2 separate regions of the Homo sapiens genome follow, and region 2 is linked to region 1. Evidence: promoter capture Hi-C in human tissues and cell types (Jung and others, 2019). All regions are on one chromosome and are shown on one strand. Each heading gives the region's core, a stretch centred on a gene start or on the middle of the fragment in contact. The rest is flanking DNA. Distances are from core to core; before and after follow the strand shown.

Region 1 (4,231 bases), core at 1,051-3,550:
CCAGCCTGGGCAACAGAACAAGACTCCGTCTCAAAAAAAGAAAAGAAAAGAGAGCACCATGTTTGGTCAAGCAAAAAGGACGGGTTACAAAACAGCTTCTGTGTATGATGCGATTCATGTAAATTTGTTGCCATGTGTATACAGCCGTATGCATGTATACTTTCTTCACTCCCTGTATTGCTTGAATTTTGTACCTGAGTATGTATTATCTCTATAGCCAGAAGAACAATTAAATTGCTTTTAAAGCATCTGATTATTCCCCAGGCACAGATTTTAATTTGTGAAGCACCCACTTTATGCCTGGCATTGGGGTACCCTGAGCCGCCCAAGGCTTTGGCTCCCGTCTGTCATCTCTAGCCTGATCATCAGAATCAGAGAATGTTGGAACTGGTAACACTTAGTTCACACCCGTATTTTACAGATGAAGGCAATAAGGCCCAGAGAAGGTAAGTGACCTGCTGAAGGTCACACAGCCAGTTTGGCCCAGAGATAACAGAACCCAGGACTCTACTGCCAGGCTATGATGCTCACTTCTAAACTGAGTATGGGCCGGGTGCAGTGGCTCTCACTTGTAATCTCGCACTTTGGGAGGCTGAGGTGGGCAGATCACCTGAGGTCAGGAGTTTGAGACCAGCCTGGCCAACATGGCGAAACTGTCTCTACTTAAAATACACAAAAAATTAGCCGGGCATGGTGGCACACGCCTGTAGTCCCAGCTACTCAGGAGGCTGAGGCAGGAGAATTGCTTGAACCCGGGAAGTAGAGGTTGCACCGAGCTGAGATCGTGCCGCTGCACTTCACCCTAGGTGACAGAGCGAGACCCTGTCTCAAAAAAAAAAAACGAGGAGTATGAATTATTATTTGGGGTCTCGAGCAGTGGGGCAGGCAGTGATTTTGATGCCCTGTCTTCTGGGAGCTCCCGTCCAAGCAAGCCCAGGATGAAAGATAAAAGGGCCCTGAATAAGACCATCATTAGTGGGGAGGAGCCTGACCCTGCATAGGCAGAAAAGCAGCTTCAGCAGGGCCCAGGGTCTACAGGGCAGCAGCCTGCAGGGTGTTGAGGAAGGAGCTGCCCTGGGCTGCTGCCAGATGTCAGTAATTATAAGGCTATGTGGGTCTGCAGACAGCTCATTAAAGACGCTTGATCTGCGTGAAACCAGGAAGCAGAACTCAGCCTCTTTGCCACTTTCTGTAAGAAATCCAACCACATCAAACACTTTGGGGTTTTTATGCAGTTTCCTGAATGTTGGGGTGATCCCAGGGAGCGGCCTCATCCTACTGTGCTCAGCACACGGTTGTCTCCTTACCCTTCCTTGTCTCTTTCCCTCGATTCTACCCCCTCCCACTTCCCCTTCCTCACTGGCCCAGGCCACATCCAGCCTTCGATAGCCCCAAGTCATCCATCAAAGCATTTCTCCGGCAAAAAGAAACCTACCCCACCGGCTTCCATGAAAATAAAATCCCCTCTATTTCATTAACAAAAGACCTCAGATGCCTTGAATTCCAGCACCTTCAAGCCCAGAATCTTAGACTTTGAGCTGGAATGGCCCTGAAGAATAATTGAGTCCAATCCCTTTAGTTTGTAGGTAGAAACACCAGGGTTCCAGGAGGGGAGAGGTCTTGTCCAAGGTCACGGGACACCCATGGCCACCAGGCCTCTAAGCTCCTGGCTGGAGGCCACTCACAAAGTCAGGGCAGATGGGCCTAGCTTCTGAGTCAGAACCAGCTCTCCCCTTTTTCTTATCTACCTCCTCTCAAGAGTCTAGTGTCCACCAAGGAAGTCTAGTGGCCCTGAAGGAGGATCATGGACCTCTGCCTCTTTAGATGCCTGCAGAACAGAGTGGAGCTGTGGGCCCAGGAGTCTTCTGCTCTCACCCAGGAGGGGAGAGGGAGCCACAGACTGACCCGGCACTGCAGCGTGCAACCATGTACTTCGGGGTCCTGGCGCTGAGCCTGTTTTTTCTCATTTGAGGGTTGTTGTGAGGGCTAAGAATGGCCAACCATAAATCCGAGTTCCCTCAGTCTTCTCTCTTTCCCCGTTCTTTTTCTTGCCAGGCTTGTGACCTTTCTGAGCCTCAGTTTCTCCACAGTCCCATTCGCAACTCCGTGTTTCCAAGGTCTCTTGGCAGGAGCCACTCCCACAGTGAACCCCTCTAGGTGCAATTACAGGATGATTTTGTGTCTCGTGGGTGTCGCTGCTAGGGTGGAGGGCCACGCCTCCTCTTTTGAATTCTGACTTTCCTGCCTAGGAGTGTCCCAAGGTTTTCCTTGTTAAAATTGGTCTGGCTGGCTGCTGTGACGCGCCACACTGTCCTGACGGTGCACACACTGCTGTGTGGAGGAACAGAGGAGTCCAGCTGGCCTTCACATGGCAGGTAAGTGGGCAGAGCCTGGGGCCTTGGGACACCAGGGCTCATGAGGGGGGCTTCAAGAAACACGGGTCTGTGGGATGACGTTTGATCATCGATTGTTAGGATTTTACAGCTGGATAGTCCACCATGAACACATGAACTCTTCGTGTGGATTCATGAGGCCCAGGATGAAAAAGCCAGCTTTAAGCCACCCAGCAAGGCCATGGCCCAGGCTGGCTCAGGCGCTGTCTCCTGGGCTGGGGCCAGGTCTCACCCCTGTGCCTCGGAGGACTGAAGGAGGCAGGCACAGGAAGGCAGGGGCAGAAAAAAGAAAATCTCCTTGCACCCCATGCACATTCCATGGATCCAGAGACGTTTCTGGGCATAGTTGGGAATTGTGGCCTGCGTGGGAAGGAGTGAGAGGCCCCCACCGGCTGCATCCTCGCCTGATTCCCACCCCAAGCACTTGAGGGCAAGAGCAGCTCTGGCTCAAGTGAAAACAGCTATATGACCTTGAGCAAGAAAATTTGCCCTTGGTACCTCTGTTTTCTGATCTGTGTAATGGGGATTATAATGCAAATTATCTCACAGCCTTGCTGTGAGGAGTTGGTGAGACCACGTGTGCTGTTCTCCCACCACACATCTCAAGTGGGGACTTGTAAACAGTAGACTCAGAAAATGTGGGTCGGGCACAGTGGCTCACGCCTCTAATCCCAGCATTTTGGGAGGCTGAAGGGGGTGGAATTCTTGAGCTCAGGAGTTTGAGACCAGCCTGGGCAATGTGGCAAAACCCCGTCTCTACAAAAAAATACAACAATTAGCTAGGCATGGTGGGGAACACCCAAAGTCCCAGCTACTTGGGAGGCTGAGGTGAGAGGATCGCTTGAGCTTAGGAGGTAGAGGCTACAGTGAGCCAAGATGGTGCCACTGCACTGCAGGCTGGGCAACAGAGTGAGACCCTGTCTCAAAAAAAAAAGAAAGTAAGATAATGTGTCCCCCACGACCTCAATATAGTGAGCAGCAAACTCCCTCTGCAAGAACTTGTCTTAGATGCTGGGGCCCGGTAATGAGCAAGTCAGCAGAACCAGGGGTCCTACACTCACAGGTATTCAAGGGGTGTTTCTGAGTCTGTGTCTGCCAGTTTTAATTGTTCAGCATTATGTGACAGTTTTATGAATCAAATATTTTTTTAACTTTCAAAGGCAGATATTTGAATTTCCTCATCATAGTCTAGCTTCCTCTTCATATTTCCTCCTGGCAGTTAACAGCATTGCTGGACGTGTTGGGCCCTTCAGGCTCCTAGGATAGGTCTGTTCTGAAGACCAGGCCTTGCCAACACCAGCTCACAGCCCAGACTGCCTGTTTCCAGAGCTGGGGTTGCCTCCCTGATGGCCCTGGTGCAGAGGGGATTGCCTTTGTTCCTCCAAGATCTGCTTCTCAAAGTTCACCTAGATGATCCCTCTTCCCTGGGCCTTTGATAACCTATCAGACTTAAACTTGACAGTGCGAAGGTTAGTTTCTGAGGAAGGAAAAAAGTTGATGATGATGCCCATTGTCAGGTCTGTAACTAACTTGCTGGGTTCCTCTCTCTGAAGCTCTGTTTCTCCGTCTGTGAAATGTCAGCATTGGAGTTGTCATGCCTATGTAAATGGACTATGTGTTGGATTGGATTCAATTCCTGGGTCTTCTGGGTCCTCTTGGCTTCTTGGGAGGATCTGTTCCTCAGAGCAGTAGGTCCTGCCTACCACACACTCTGTGCCTGAATGACTGAGACATCAGATCCTAGATGGAAAGTGTATTCATCTTCCTGGAGCTCCTTCTATCCCCCCTCCCTCACTCCATCCATGGTGGACATCCCTAGTTGACCCCAGAGCTCTTCC
Region 2 (4,231 bases), core at 1,242-3,741, 98 kb before region 1:
CCCAAGGAAGGCTTCCCTACCCCCTTAAGCCTGGTTCAGGTACAGTCCCACGTGCAGCCCCAGTCTTAATGCCACCACCACACTCCCAGGTGGTGGCCTCTCCACTGTATCTTGTTATGATGTCTTGTTTACCCCCAGACCTGGCACGTGGTAGGTATTTACTGCATTCTTTAATGACTGATGAAATGAGCAGAGTCTCTCTACTGGGACAGGAAAGCAGGACAGGAGTGAGGTTGTGGTGTGTTTGGAAATATGGTGCTTTAGCTTGTCATATCACTTGGGCGGGTCTCCTGCCTCCCTTTTTATATGTAAAATAAAGGAGTCTGACAGATAAGTGTTTTCCGAACTGTTCTGTAAAACACTAGTTTCTTGGATATTTTGCAGCCAAAACAAACAGTCTCCCTGGGTAACTGGGGTGATGTGACACACTGTAACTCCTTCTTGGAGATTCATATGTGCATTTGAATATTAAAGGCTCTGAGAAGGCCTGCAGTAAAGACATCTATCTAATTTCATTTAGGCCAAGTTTCTCCAAAATTCTCTGGCCTCCCTCTCCTTATATCTGAGGAACTGGTGTTCCGAAGCATACAACTTGGGAAATACTGAACTAGACAATTTCTTTCTTTCTTTCTTTCTTTCTTTCTTTCTTTCTTTCTTTCTTTCTTTCTTTCTTTCTTTCTTTCTTTCTTTCTTTTTTCTTTTTGGAGACAGAATCTTGCTTTGCCACTGAGGCTGGAGTGTAGTGGTACCATCTCGGCTCATTGCAACCTCTGCCTCCCAGGTTCAAGAGATTATCCTGCCTCAGCCTCTCAAGTAGCTGGGATTACAGGCATCTGCCCCCATGCCCGGCTAATTTTTGTATTTTTAGTAGAGACACGGTTTCACTGTGTTGGCTAGGCTGGTCTCAAACTCCTGACCTCAAGTGATCCGCCCACCTCGGCCTCCCAAAGTGCTGGAATTACAGGCATGAGCCACCACACCTGGCCTTTGAACTAAATAATTTCTAAGTGCCCTTGTAACTATGTTTCATCCATAGAGGAGGTGGCCTGGTATAGTGAAAACAGTGTGGACTTTGGAATCAGTACTGGGCTTAAATCTTGGCTCTGCCTTTTAGTAGCTGTGTGGCCTTAAGTAATTGATTTAGATTTCCAGAGTTGGATTTACTAATCTGTAAGATGAGCCTAATAATACCTGTTTGTTATGGTTGTAGGTTGTTGAGAGTATTAGATGAGGTAACAGATATGAAGGATCAACAGCAGTGTTTGACAAACAGTAGGCCCATAATAAGTATTAGTTCCTTTGCTCTATTACGTCTAACGCTCTACTTCCACCCCTTACCTCTACCACCAAACTCAGAGTGGACTGTTGGCAGGCAGAGAATGCAGCAGGGAGGCAGACTGAGTCCAGGTCCTCACATGGCCCTAATCGTGCTCTCTCAGTTTCACGGAAGGACCACACCCCAGCCTCCTCTTTGGTAGGGGGACCAAAGGTGAAGGGGCCAAGGGGGAGGTGGCAGAGAATCCTTCCCTCCTTTGCCAAGCGAATGTGTCTTCTCTGTGTCTTCTCTGTGCTAGGCAACTAGATGGTGTTAGTAACAAGAGAAGATAAAAGGATGCTTTCAAACTTTACAGAATGAACGCCCTCTCTCATAAATCCACTACCTAAAATAGCAAGCCCCAACATGAGGGCAAAGCCTTGGCCTGTCTGCCTGGGCAGGAAGGTAGCACAAAGGTGGGATCTGACGGATGGTGGAGTGAGAAGGCAGGGTTAGGAACCTGAAAGGGCAAGGCTTAGAAAGGCTTCTAGGAGCCTTGGCACCAGCAGAGCCATGGCGGGGGGATCTGCGCTCAGAGCAAAGCCACCAGTTGGCAAACACAAATCAGTCTCCAAGTTCGCACCACACAGGACTTGTTTGTGGTGGAGGAAGCAAGACATCTGCCAGGGAGGCAAGAATGGATGCTGGGGCTTGGCTTGTTGCAGGGCCTGAACCAGTGGGCTGGATCAAATGCATTGAACCTCTGTGGACGGGTCTCATTTTTGTATTACTCTTTTTTTTCCCTTCCTTCCACTTTAGGGCAATATTAGAAGAAAGAATGCAGGGGCGGGGTGTGGTGGCTCACGCCTGTAGTCCCAGCACTTTGGGAAGCTGAGGTGAGTATATCACTTGAGGCCAGGAGTTCGAGACCAGCCTGGCCAACATGGTGAAACCCTGTCTCTACTAAAAATACAAAAAAATTAGCTGGGGTGGTGGCGGGCGCCAGTAATCCCAGCTACTCCGGAGGCTGAGGCAGGAGAATCACTTGAACCTGGGAGGCAGAGGTTGCAGTGAGCCGAGATCGCACCTCTGCAATCTATCCTGCGCACCAGAGTGAGACTCTGTCTAAAAAAAAATTAAAAAGAAAATAAAAAGAAAGAATGCAGGCCTTGGAGACAAGAGTGGTTTTAAGTCTTACTCTGCCTTTGCTAGTTTTGTCTCCTTGGGCAAGTTACTTAACCCCTCTGAAGCTTAGTTTTCTCATGTGTAGGATGAGGAAGATAATTTCTACTCAGAGAGTAGTTGCAGGGACCGAATGAGTTATTGCTAGTGAATTCCAGAGTGTGGCACGTGTAACCCAGACACGGGGGCAGACATTTTAAATTCTAATAGTCAATGTTTAGTTTCATAGGCATTAGAAAAATAATTGACAAACCAAATCATTTTATGAATGTTATTGATTAGTGCAAGACTAAAGTAGTTAGGTAAGTTAATTAATTAATGTATTTATTTATTTTGAGACAGAGTTTCGCTCTTTCACCCAGGCTGGAGTAAAGTGGGGCAATCTTGGCTCATTGCAACCTCCATTCCCTGGATTCAAGCGATTCTCCTGCCTCAGCCTCCCAAGTAGCTGGGATTATAGGCACGCACCACCTCGCCTAGCTAATTTTTGTATTTTTAGTAAAGATGGGGTTTTGCCATGTTGGCCCAGCTAGTCTCGAACTCCTGACCCCAGGTGATCCACCCGCCTCAACCTCCCAAAGTGCTAGGATTACAGGTGTGAGCTACCGCGCCCAGCTGGTAAGTTAAAGAAAAAAGGGAAAGGGAGTTAATTTAAAGAAAAACTTTAAGTTAATTATGATGTAGCTGGTGGGCAGATGTGGCAAAACTCAAGAAGGTGCTGTGTGAATGACTAAAGTACAGGAAACTGAATTAATACCCACTCAATCATGGTGGCTGGTTCGTGGCAGGCACTGAAGGTCATTTCCAAGAAAGTAAAGAGGTTTAGAAAAGGAAGGGAGGGAATAAGGGAGGAAACAGACCTTCTTAGTTGTCTACCTACTTAGCCTGTAGGTCCACTTCAGCCATACTCTTCTTCCAGAGGTTCCCTTTTTGTTTTTTCTTTTTAAAAATATTTTTTAATTTTATTTTATTTTTCTCTACTAGGTTAGCCAGGCATGATGTCATGCACTTGTAGTCCCAGCTACTTGGGAGCCTGAGGTGGGAGGATTGCTTAAGCCCAGGAGGTGCAGATTCCAGTGAGCTGAGATCATACCACTGCACTCCAACCTGTGTGACAGAGCCAGGCCCTCTCCCAAAAAAAATAAATAAATAAAAATAAAATAAAATAAAATAAAATAAAATAAAATAAAATAAAATAAAATAAAATAAAATAAAATAAATAAAATAAAATAAAATAAAATAAAATAAAATAAAATAAAATAAAGGGTATACGGTGAAGAGTCAGTCTCTTTTTTTCCTTAACAATTAGGCCCCTAGGTTCCTTTCCCAGAGAAAACAACTGTTAACATCTTCTTTTAAATCTTTCTTTCTAAGTATATGCAAGCATAATTGTGTAGGAGCCTGTTTTTTTCAAAGCTCTTTTGATGAGAATTTATATCTAGAATCCTAAGACTTAAAAGTGCAAGGAGGGGGATGCGTGAAACACACTAAGATCATCTTGTTCAGAGATCTCAGTGAGAATCAGAAAATGCGTGGAGGTGGCCACACTCATTGACAATCTATGTCTAATGAAAGATGTTTTTGTTTTGTTTTGTTTTAGAGACAGGGTCTCATTCTGTTGCCCAAGCTGGAGTACAGTGGCATGATCATAGCTCACTGCAGCCTCAAACTCCTGGGCTCAAGTGATGCTCCCACCTAGGCCTCCCAAAGCATTAGGATTACAGGCATGAGCCACAGCACCTGGCCTGAGAGGTGTTTCTGGTGAGCACATATAGAACATGAGATAATGTGAAG

The links. Contacts are between HindIII fragments. The study calls those that stand out against the background at their distance.
Region 2: a contact is called between a fragment that was not itself captured here and the fragment with the promoter of TGM6 in region 1, in 2 of the 25 tissues and cell types used here (neural progenitor cells and thymus).

What each region holds. Positions count from the first base shown.
Region 1 is chr20:2,378,601-2,382,831 of GRCh38, forward strand. It overlaps TGM6 (transglutaminase 6), which reads left to right and starts at 2,301. Exons shown (of 13, transcript NM_198994.3): 1 at 2,301-2,375. The coding sequence starts at 2,369. The HindIII fragment of the contact is 30,296 bases long and covers 1-4,231 here.
Region 2 is chr20:2,280,703-2,284,933 of GRCh38, forward strand. No RefSeq gene overlaps it. Among named protein-coding and RNA genes, the nearest start is that of TGM3, 13 kb to the right of the region's middle. The HindIII fragment of the contact is 5,447 bases long and covers 1-4,231 here.